Linked DNA regions of Homo sapiens: regions 1 and 3 are each linked to region 2. Evidence: promoter capture Hi-C in human tissues and cell types (Jung and others, 2019). All regions are on one chromosome and are shown on one strand. The core of a region is centred on a gene start or on the middle of the fragment in contact, and the rest is flanking DNA. Distances in the headings are between cores, read along the strand shown.

Evidence for each region. Contacts are between HindIII fragments. The study calls those that stand out against the background at their distance.
Region 1: a contact is called between the fragment with the promoter of H6PD here and a fragment that was not itself captured in region 2, in 1 of the 25 tissues and cell types used here (dorsolateral prefrontal cortex).
Region 3: the fragment with the promoter of PGD here is called in contact with a fragment that was not itself captured in region 2 in 1 of the 25 tissues and cell types used here (dorsolateral prefrontal cortex).

Annotation. Positions count from the first base shown.
Region 1 is chr1:9,232,916-9,236,134 of GRCh38, forward strand. It overlaps H6PD (hexose-6-phosphate dehydrogenase/glucose 1-dehydrogenase), which reads left to right and starts at 1,859. Exons shown (of 5, transcript NM_004285.4): 1 at 1,859-2,151. RefSeq lists a silencer at 1,712-2,271. The HindIII fragment of the contact is 6,904 bases long and covers 237-3,219 here.
Region 2 is chr1:9,818,360-9,821,343 of GRCh38, forward strand. All of the region lies in intron 1 of CLSTN1 (calsyntenin 1), which reads right to left. Among named protein-coding and RNA genes, the nearest start is that of CLSTN1, 4.1 kb to the right of the region's middle. The HindIII fragment of the contact is 3,392 bases long and covers 1-2,984 here.
Region 3 is chr1:10,397,386-10,400,508 of GRCh38, forward strand. It overlaps PGD (phosphogluconate dehydrogenase), which reads left to right and starts at 1,679. Exons shown (of 13, transcript NM_002631.4): 1 at 1,679-1,740; 2 at 2,244-2,319; 3 at 3,008-3,123. The coding sequence starts at 1,733. RefSeq lists an enhancer at 1,067-1,376 and silencers at 1,857-2,176, 2,269-2,445. The HindIII fragment of the contact is 25,181 bases long and covers 1-3,123 here.

The DNA of each region.
Region 1 (3,219 bases), core at 609-3,108, 590 kb before region 2:
TAGCTAGGACTACAGGCACGCCACCACGCTTGGCTTTTTTTTTTTTTTTTGTATTATTAGTAGAGATGGGATTTCATCATGTTGGCCAGGCTGGTCTCGAACTACTGACCTCAGGGGATCCACCTGCCTCGGCCTCCCAAAGTGCTGTGATTACAGGCATGAGCCACTACGCCTGACCTGGGGCTATTTATAAGAAGCCCTCAAGGTAGCAGATCACCCTCTGATGGCCACATGGAGATCTGGGAAACGAACCCCCGGTCATGCCTCTGGACACCTGCCCACTTCTATCTGTGCCTTCCTGGGCCCTGGTTTTCAGAGCTATGTGGGTGCCTGACACACTCAGGGCCACAGAACATGGGAAGGGCTCTAGGCCAAGAGTCCCGGCATCATTCGAGTCTGCTCTGGCCCGCTCCTGCCCTAAGCCCTCCTGCTCACTTCCAGCTGTGGAGGTAGCCCAGAGAGTGCCTGGCTCCCTGGCTCCCCCCTCTGCCAGGCCCACTCAGTGTGACCTAAATCCTTGCCGAGGCTTGGCAGCCCTCTGCGGGCGCCCGGATGGCCTCTGGCCTTGGTGACGGTGAGGCCCAGCTCCCCTCAGTTCCCAGCCTTCCCGGAACCCCTTGCCTAACATCCTGTGTGGTAATCATGCCTGTTGGCCCCATTCAGTCCTGCCGGCCACTGCCAAGTTGCCACTGCTAGTTCCAGACGCTCCCACCTCTAATGGAACCATCGGGAAATAAAAAGCTGCAGCACAGTTTCTCTCTCAGGTCAGAATCTCCTCCCAGCACTTTGGGAGGCCAACGTGGGAGAATCACTTGGGCCCAGGAGTTCGAGACCAGCCTGGGCAACAAAGTGAGACCCCGTCTCTACAAAAAGTTGAAAAATTAGTCAGGAGTGGTGGCGAACATCTGTGATCCCAGTTACTTGGGAGGCTGAGGCGGGAGGATCACTTGAGCCTGGGAGGCGGAGGCTGCAGTGAGCTGTGATAGCGCCACTGCACTCCAGCATGGGTGACAGAGCGAGACCCTGTCTCAAAAAAAAAAAAAAAAAAAAAAAAGAAAAAAAGAAAAGAAAAGAAAGAAAAAAGAAAAAGTGGGGAGCAGGTTGGGGAGCATGGTGAGGGCCACCTACTGCCTGATAATGGTGGGGGACAGGAAGGGGACTGAGTGCTCTGAGAGGCAGCTGATCCCGTTTTCTCACTTAAATACCTCTCACCCTACAGAGAAGCCCTGATTCCATTTGCTGTCTTTCTTAGCAATGTCTTAGCAAAAGTCTTCTATTTGCCACACGGGTCCAAGCTTCCGCTTACTAAGCACCCAAGTGCCAGACAACCCCGGAGGCAGGTACTCCCATTGTCCCCACTGTACAGATGAAGAAACTGAACTCAGGGTCACACAAGTGATAAGGGGTGGCAGAGATCTGAAGCTGTGCGCGGAGGCGTGGCCAGCGTGTGCGCTCCGACTTCTAAATCCCTACTCTGGATATTGAAGACGGGAAAGACCGAGCCGCTCATTCTACAGATGGGGAAAAGCGAGGCCTGAGGAGTCCCAGAGCGGGTGCCAGATCGTAGGGAGCAGCCAGCACCCCGGGTCCCCTCCACGACACAACCACGTCCCTCGGCCACTTCTGGGTCCCGCGCGCGTCTCGGACGCGGCAGGACAGCTCTAGGACGCACGGCCACCAGGGGGCCGAAGGGAAGGGCGGGGGCGGAGGCTCGGAGCTGACCCACCGCCTCGCCCCGGAAGCTCCGAGGCCCCGCCCCGGCGGCCGCCAGCGGAGGGCGTGGCCTCGCCGGCGCCCCCGCCCCGCCCCCGCCCCCGCCGCGCGCGCCCCCGCCGCGCGCGCCCCCGGCCCGGGCCCCAGTCTTGCTGAGCGCAAGGCGGTGGAGGCCTGAGGCCTGAGGCCTGGGGCGGGGTGGCGGCCGGGCTGGCCTTGGCCTCGCGCCTTCCCCTGCGGCCGCCGCGGGCTCCGCGGGCGGTATCGGAGTGTCGTGCGGCGCGTGGCCGCGTGACACGCGCACTTGTCGGAGTGACGGGCCCTGCGGAAGAGGAGGTGCGGCCCAGGGCGCAGGGGAGCCCTCGGGAGCGGGCCCGGCCCTCAGCGCCGCCCCGGCCGTGTCCCGGAGGAGCGGCCTGCGCCGCCGCGCGAGAGGAAGTAAGCGCCCCCCGCCGGCCCCGCCGCCGCCCCGGCCCCGGCGCCTCCAACCCGCGCTGCCGCCGGGCCCGAGGCCGCGCCGAGCCCCGGAGCCTGCGCTGCCAGCCCCACGGAGCCTGGGGCTGGCGGCTTTGGAACTGCTCAGGAGGCGGCCAGGCTCCCTCCAGGGTCGCCCCGAGCGGCCGAGCTGTCCTTTCCCTGGGCTTCCCGGAACTGAGTTCCAGGAGAGGGGGAACTCCGAGATTTCCCCCGGGACCTGCTTAATCTTTGGCATTGATTGGCCCTCGGGTTTCACATAGCGTTTCCCGTACCCGGATCTAGTGAACGGTTTTCCAGGGGCAAACCTCTCTGGATCTCTGAAAATCAGCTCACCCAACCTTGAATGCTTAGCCAGAAGTGAGAACTTCTGGAAAGAAGTGTCCTTGCCCACTCCCCCTGCACCCACAACAGGCCCATGGCTCATGAAAGGCAGCAGATGAGGGAAAACTGGTGTCAAATGGGCATATTTTTTATTTTATCTTTTTACTTTTTTATATAAAAGTAAAAAATCTTTTACTTATAAAAGATGGGGTCTTGCTTGGTTGCCCAGGCTGGAGTACAGTGGCACAAACACGGTTCCCTGCAGCCTCCACCTCTTGGGCTCAGGCCATCGTCCTGCCTCAGCCTCCGGGGTAGCTGGGACCACAGGCGCACACCACCACGCCTGGCTAATTTTTAAACCTTTTGTAGAGACAGTGGTCTCACTATGTTGCCCTGGCTGGTCTCGAACTCCTGGGCTCAAGCGATCCTCCTGCTTAAGCCTTACGAAGTGTTGGGATTACAGGTGTGAAGCACCACGCCCAGACAGCGTATTTTAAATTATGCATCATATCCCTTTAATTTTTCATCATTATGATTGGAAGATCATGAAAAGCTGTCTGAGTTTTTCCTTGGCATTTTTCTGTGGTTGATGGTTAGTTGTTGCCCAAGCTGGAGTGCAATGGCGCGATCTCGGCCCACTGCAACCTTCTCCTCCTGGTTCAAGCGATTCTTCCACCTCAGCCTCCTGAGTGGCTGGGATTACAGGCG
Region 2 (2,984 bases), core at 441-2,940:
CACTCTGTCGCCAGGCTGGAGTGCGGCGGTGTGATCTCGGCTCACTACAACCTCCGCCTCCCGAGTTCAAGCAATTCTCTTGCCTCAGCCTCCCAAGTAGCTGGGACTACAGATGCATGCCACCATGCCCAGCTAATTTTTGTATTTTTAGTAGAGACAGGGTTTCATCATGTTGGCCAGGATGGTCTCCATCTCTTGACCTCATGATCCACCCACCTTGGCCTCCCAAAGTGCTGGGATTACAGGCATGAGCCACCGCGCCAGGCCTTGGTTGTTTTTTAATGCACGAACATGACATTGCATAAATAATTTCCACCAATCTTGAATCTGTAGTCCTGAAACACTACTAAAATCCGTATTTTGTAGCAAATCAACATTTTAAATTTCACTTATAAAGACATATTTCTTCAAGCAACTCTTTTTTTTTTTTTTTTTTTTTTTTTTTGAGACGGAGTCTCACTCTGTCGCCCAGGCTGGAGTGCAGTGGCGCGATCTCGGCTCACTGCAAGCTCCACCTCCCGGGTTCACGCCATTCTCCTGCCTCAGCCTCCCGAATAGCTGGGACTACAGGCACCTGCCACCACGCCTGGCTAATTTTTTGTATTTTTTTTTAGTAGAGACAGATGGGGTTTCACCGTGTTAGCCAGGATGGTCTTGATCTCCTGACCTCGTGATCCACCCACATTGGCCTCCCAAAATGCTGGGATTACAGGTGTGAGCCACCGCACCCGGCCCCTTCAAGCAAGTCTTCACACCAAATTAAGACCCACTAAAAAAACAAGTTTTAATGATCTAAGCCCTCAACCAGAATACATAAGAAATAGACTCTTGGCGGTTTTTTAGGATAATCAGATCTCTATTTTGTTTCAACTCTTATAAATGAAAACTACCCAAAAAAATTAAAAAACATACTTTCCTGTCTCAGAAAGCAATAATAAAAATAACTCAGTACTTTTTTTCCTTTGTTCTAAAATTTTAACCTATCTCAGCTTCCTCATTTTAAACATTTAGACTTGGTTTAATAAGCTTCACTAAGTCCTGCAGCTAGTGTTACGAAATTACAGCATTTTCTATTTTCAATGTAATATTTTATATCCCACAAAAATTTCATTTTTTGGTCATATTCTTCATAACTAAAACTGAAATATTATTTGCGTTTTTGGCTTGAATATCAAATACTGGCACAGATAATGTATGTTATGACCTCCTAAACCTTCCTTTTGAAAAATAATTCCTATAAAACTGCTTGGTTTCATGCTTTTTCTCCCAAAAGAAATATCCAGCCAAAGGACGAATTCCAGCTAACTGAAGGTTCCAGTTAACCGAGTGAATGCTCTAAAATTGGAATATATTCAAAATTGTTCGTATTTTATTATTTCTTCAGCAGTTATAGGTCTCCTTTGAGAAATAAATGTTATTTACTTTCAGTATTAAAAATGTTAGACTATGGGTAATACTGAGGTCTATATTCGAACGACTTTTTTCCACATCGTTACTTCTGAAAAAACGAGGTAACAAATTAAGAAACCATCTTCCCAAAAAAGCTGAAAATTATAGTATTTTTAAAGGGACTAACAGGGGTAGCCACAGAGCTACAGCCTTCAAAGGCTGAGACAGAGTTTCATGATCTAATATCCCCAATACTGCAACCAACAGAATTGATCCTTGAACTTTTTTTTTTTTTTTGGTATTTTTGTAGTGACAAGGTTTCACCATGTTGCCCAGGCTAGTCTCAAACTCCTGGGCTCAAACAATCTGCCTGCCTAGTTCTCCCAAAGTGCTGGAATTACAGGGGTGAGCCACCGAGGCTGGCCCCATGATCCTTGAAAATTTACCCACTAATGAATTCCCATATCGACACTGCAGAATTTAAGTTTGGGCCGGGTGCAGTGGCTCACACCTGTAATCTCAGCACTGTGGGAGGCAGAGGCAGGCGGATCACTTGAGGTCAGAAGTTCAGACCAGCCTGGCCAACATGGTGAAACCCTGTCTCTACTAAAAATACAAAAATGAGCCCAGTGTGATGGCATATGCCTGTAGTCCCAGCTACTGGTGAGGCTGAGGCAGAAGAATCTCTTGAACCCGGGAGGCGGAGGTTGCAGTGAGACAAGATCGCGCCATTGCACTCCAGCCTGGGTGACAGAATGAGACTCTGTCACAAAAACAAAAACAAACAAAAAAAAAACTTAAGTTTGCTTTACACTATGTAATTTTTTTCAGTATATAGCATTTATCTGTAAAGTGAAAATTAGGATGCAAAGCTACTACGCTGTCTAAACTGAAATGCTGTTATCCATCCACCCATTCATTCATTCAATCACACAATACTGGCATGCCTCTGGTGTGCTGGTGACGGGAAACATATGCAAAGCAGATACCCTTCCATCTTGGGGCATATGTTCTACTGAGGGGAAACAGACGATAAACAATTCAATAAGTAAACAACAAGGCATGTTAGAATGGGCTAAGTGCTATGCAAAAAGAAAAAGTGTTGCAGGGAAACAGGATTTAGGGGTTCAGGAAGAGAAATTATTTCAAATAGGATGGTGAGGGGAGGTCTCACTAAGCCTATGTGCAAATGGAAAAGTAACAGTGAATTTTATGTATTAAGTGGCTTCGAAATGCATTACATGGTTGCATTTTTTAAATATTCATATAAGCTTTCTATTTTCTCTGCTTCACTGTTCTATTTCCCGATCTCCATGAAGAAGGCAGGTAGCTGAAGGACATGACCGTCCAGGGCATGCCAAAGATATTTCTTCTAATATTTTGGCTTACTGAATTTGTTTTTAAGATGGAGTCTTGCTTTGTCACCCAGGCTGGAGTGCAGTGGCGCAATCTCGGCTCACTGCAACCTCCGCCTCCTGGGTTCAAGCAATTCTCCTGCCTCAGCCTCCCAAGTAGCTGGAGTTACAGGCGTCCACCAGTACACCCAGCTAATTTTTATATAGTTAGCAGAGATGGGGTTTCACCATGTTGGCCAG
Region 3 (3,123 bases), core at 429-2,928, 580 kb after region 2:
GTATGACATGTAAATTATCTCATTAAATCTGTATTTTAAAAAAAGAACTGTGCTGTGAAGTTTGACATATTTTAAAGTAGGATGTCTTAGCCGGGCATGGTGTTGCATGCCTGTAGTCCTAGCTACTCAGGAAGTTGAGGCTAGAAGATTGCTCGACCTCAGGAGTTCAAGGCTGCAGTAAGCTATGGTCATGCCACTGCACTCCAGCCTGGGCAACAGAGCAAAGACCTGGTCTTTATAAAAATTAAAAACCGGCCGGGCACAGTGGCTCACACCTCTAATCCCAGAACTTTGGGAGGCTGAGGTGGGTGGATCACTTGAGGTTAGGAGTTCGAGACCAGCCTGGCCAACATGGTGAAACCCTGTCTCTACTAAAAATAAAAACATTAGCTGGGCATGGTGGCACACACCTGTAGTCCCAGCTACTTGGGAGGCTGAGGCAGGAGAATCGCTTGAACCTGGGAGGTGGAGGTTGCAGTGAGCCCAGATCGCGCCACTGCCCTCCAGCCTGGAGACACAGCCAGACTCCATCTCAACAATGACATCAAAAAAAGGCCGGGCACGGTGGCTCACGCCGGTAATCTCAGCACTTTGGGAGGCCAAGGCGGGCGGATCACGAGGTCAGGAGTTTGAGACCAGCCTGGCCAAGATGGTGAAACCCCATCTCTACTAAAAATACAAAAATTAGCTGGGCGTGGTGGCGGGCGCCTGTAATCCCAGCTACTTGGGAGGCTGAGGCAGGAAAATTGCTTGAACCCGGGAGGCGGAAGGTGCAGTGAGCTGAGATCACACCACTGCATTCCAGCCCGGGCGACAGTGCGAGACTCCGTCTCAAAAAAAACAAAAAAAATCTAAAACTCAAACTTCTGAATAACAATTTCCTCCTAGCAAGAAGGGACTCAGTAAGATAAGAAGCGCTGCTTGGCTACTTTGCAAATGTCTGGCTTAAGATGGCTGGTTTTTTGTATCTGCCTCTGCATTTAACCTGGTCCATCTCGCGGGTCACATAGCCTCTACAAAATGAGAAGGGGTTCAATACCGTTAACTCCGGGCCTGGGTAAAAGACTCAAGTCCTGACCCCATCATACTCCAACCAATACATACCCCGCCTGCGCTGTCTGCGCCTGGGTCTCTTCAACCGCAGTGAGCGGTCGCACGGCTCCACATCAGGGTCGCCCTGAGGCTCAGCCTTCCCCGGCCCCATTCCGAGTGCGCACAGGACTGAACGAGCACGCCCGGTCCCTGCTCCGGAGCGGAGGACACGACGCGGACCCGCACGGTGCACCGCAGTGACCTGAGGAAGGAGCGACGGGCGCTCGCGCCAAAGGCGTCCGAGTGCCTGGTAAACTGTAAAGCGCGGTCCTGCGTGAGTTGCTATGGCTACAGCTGCGCCAGGCGGACGGCCTGCAGGACCGAGGTGCAGCTGGGACGAGCGGAAAGCTCTGCGCGTGGGCGGGGAGCCCGGAGCCTCGCCGGGGCAATGTCATCTAGGTGCTCGGCGCTCCACTGATCCGGCCCCCGGGGGTGGGCGGGCACGTTTGCCTCGGATGGTCTAACAGGCGTCGGGGAGAGCCAATGGTGTGGCTTCATGGCTCCACCCCCTTCCATTCGATTGGCCGGCGCCGAAAAGCCGGGCGTGAGCGGCCGCAGTTTCTGGAGGGAGCCGCTGCGGGTCTTTCCCTCACTCGTCCTCCGCGCGTCGCCGCTCTTCGGTTCTGCTCTGTCCGCCGCCATGGCCCAGTGAGTGACTCGCCAGGGGCAGCCCGGCTCGGCCTCAGCGGGCGGGGAACTCTTTGGGGGTCGAGATCTCCCTCGTTCTCTCCGACGCCTCCCACCCTGGGGGTCGCCTGAGCTCACTTGGGGCTCTGTGACCCTGGCCCTACGGCGTCTCGGGCCCAGAGCTCCTTCCCTGCGGGCCCGGCCCCCTGCCCTCTCGGCCGCGCAGGCATGGGGCGGGGCGGGTCCCTTCGAGGGCCAGGGAGGAGGCGCGGCCAGGCCTCGCCGAGTCTGCAGGGACACCTGCGGGACGCGTGCCAGCGGGAGCCGGGCGCGAGGGCGGGGCTGGGGGCCGCCTGCCCGGCCGAGGCTCTGCAGCGTGCGCGCCCGGCTTCTGGGGGCCCGCGGGAGGCGCGGAGGAAAGTGCAGACTCCCAGTCACGGCCAAATGTGGAAGGACCGGACCCCTGGGTTGCAGCGCGTCGAGCGGTGCTGACTCTTTCCTTTGTTCTGTTTCTGCCTCTCTAGAGCTGACATCGCGCTGATCGGATTGGCCGTCATGGGCCAGAACTTAATTCTGAACATGAATGACCACGGCTTTGTGGTAAGCGGCGTGGGCGCGTTGTCTTCTCTCTGGTTCCCGGGCGCTTTAGCCGAGGCCGGCGATAGGTTTGGGAGCTTACGGGTCTCCTGGCCGTGCTTTGCTAATGTGCTCTGTTGCTGCTCGTGGCATTTTTGTATGGAAAGGAGAAGCACCCTGTAGGCGTGGGCGGGCCGATCCCGAACTTAGTCCTGCGGAGTGTGCCTGTGGGTCCGTGAGGTTCACAGCCCGAATGAACGAATTAGTGTCTTAAGTAGAGAAGAAGGGTGCGGGAGGAGAACCCTTGCTGGCTGTGTAGAGCTCTAACTTGATTGCCTGATGAGATCTGGGGAGAGTGAAAATGTTTCTTCTAAATGTTAAAGTGGCTTAGACGCCAGGATGATCAATAACAACAGATAGAGCCTGTTGAACCGGCCAGTTCCTGGATTTGATTTTGAGTCCTAACACGTTGGGTGTGGATTCTACCTGACACACCGGGGGTAGTTGGCCTTCGCCTCGGTTGTCCGCCGTTTTCATCCTACTGAGGTGACATAACTTTACAGTGAGCCTCCCACAGCTGGGGGAAGAAAAGGCAAAGGCAGGTCTGACCTCCCCAGAACTTGGGTTGAATGGAAAGGTCATTGTTACTTTGGCCACAGTCTGAAAGTCTTGTGTGTCCTGGATCTCCTACTCAGGACTTTTGTCCTTCTAGGTCTGTGCTTTTAATAGGACTGTCTCCAAAGTTGATGATTTCTTGGCCAATGAGGCAAAGGGAACCAAAGTGGTGGGTGCCCAGTCCCTGAAAGAGATGGTCTCCAAGCTGAAGAA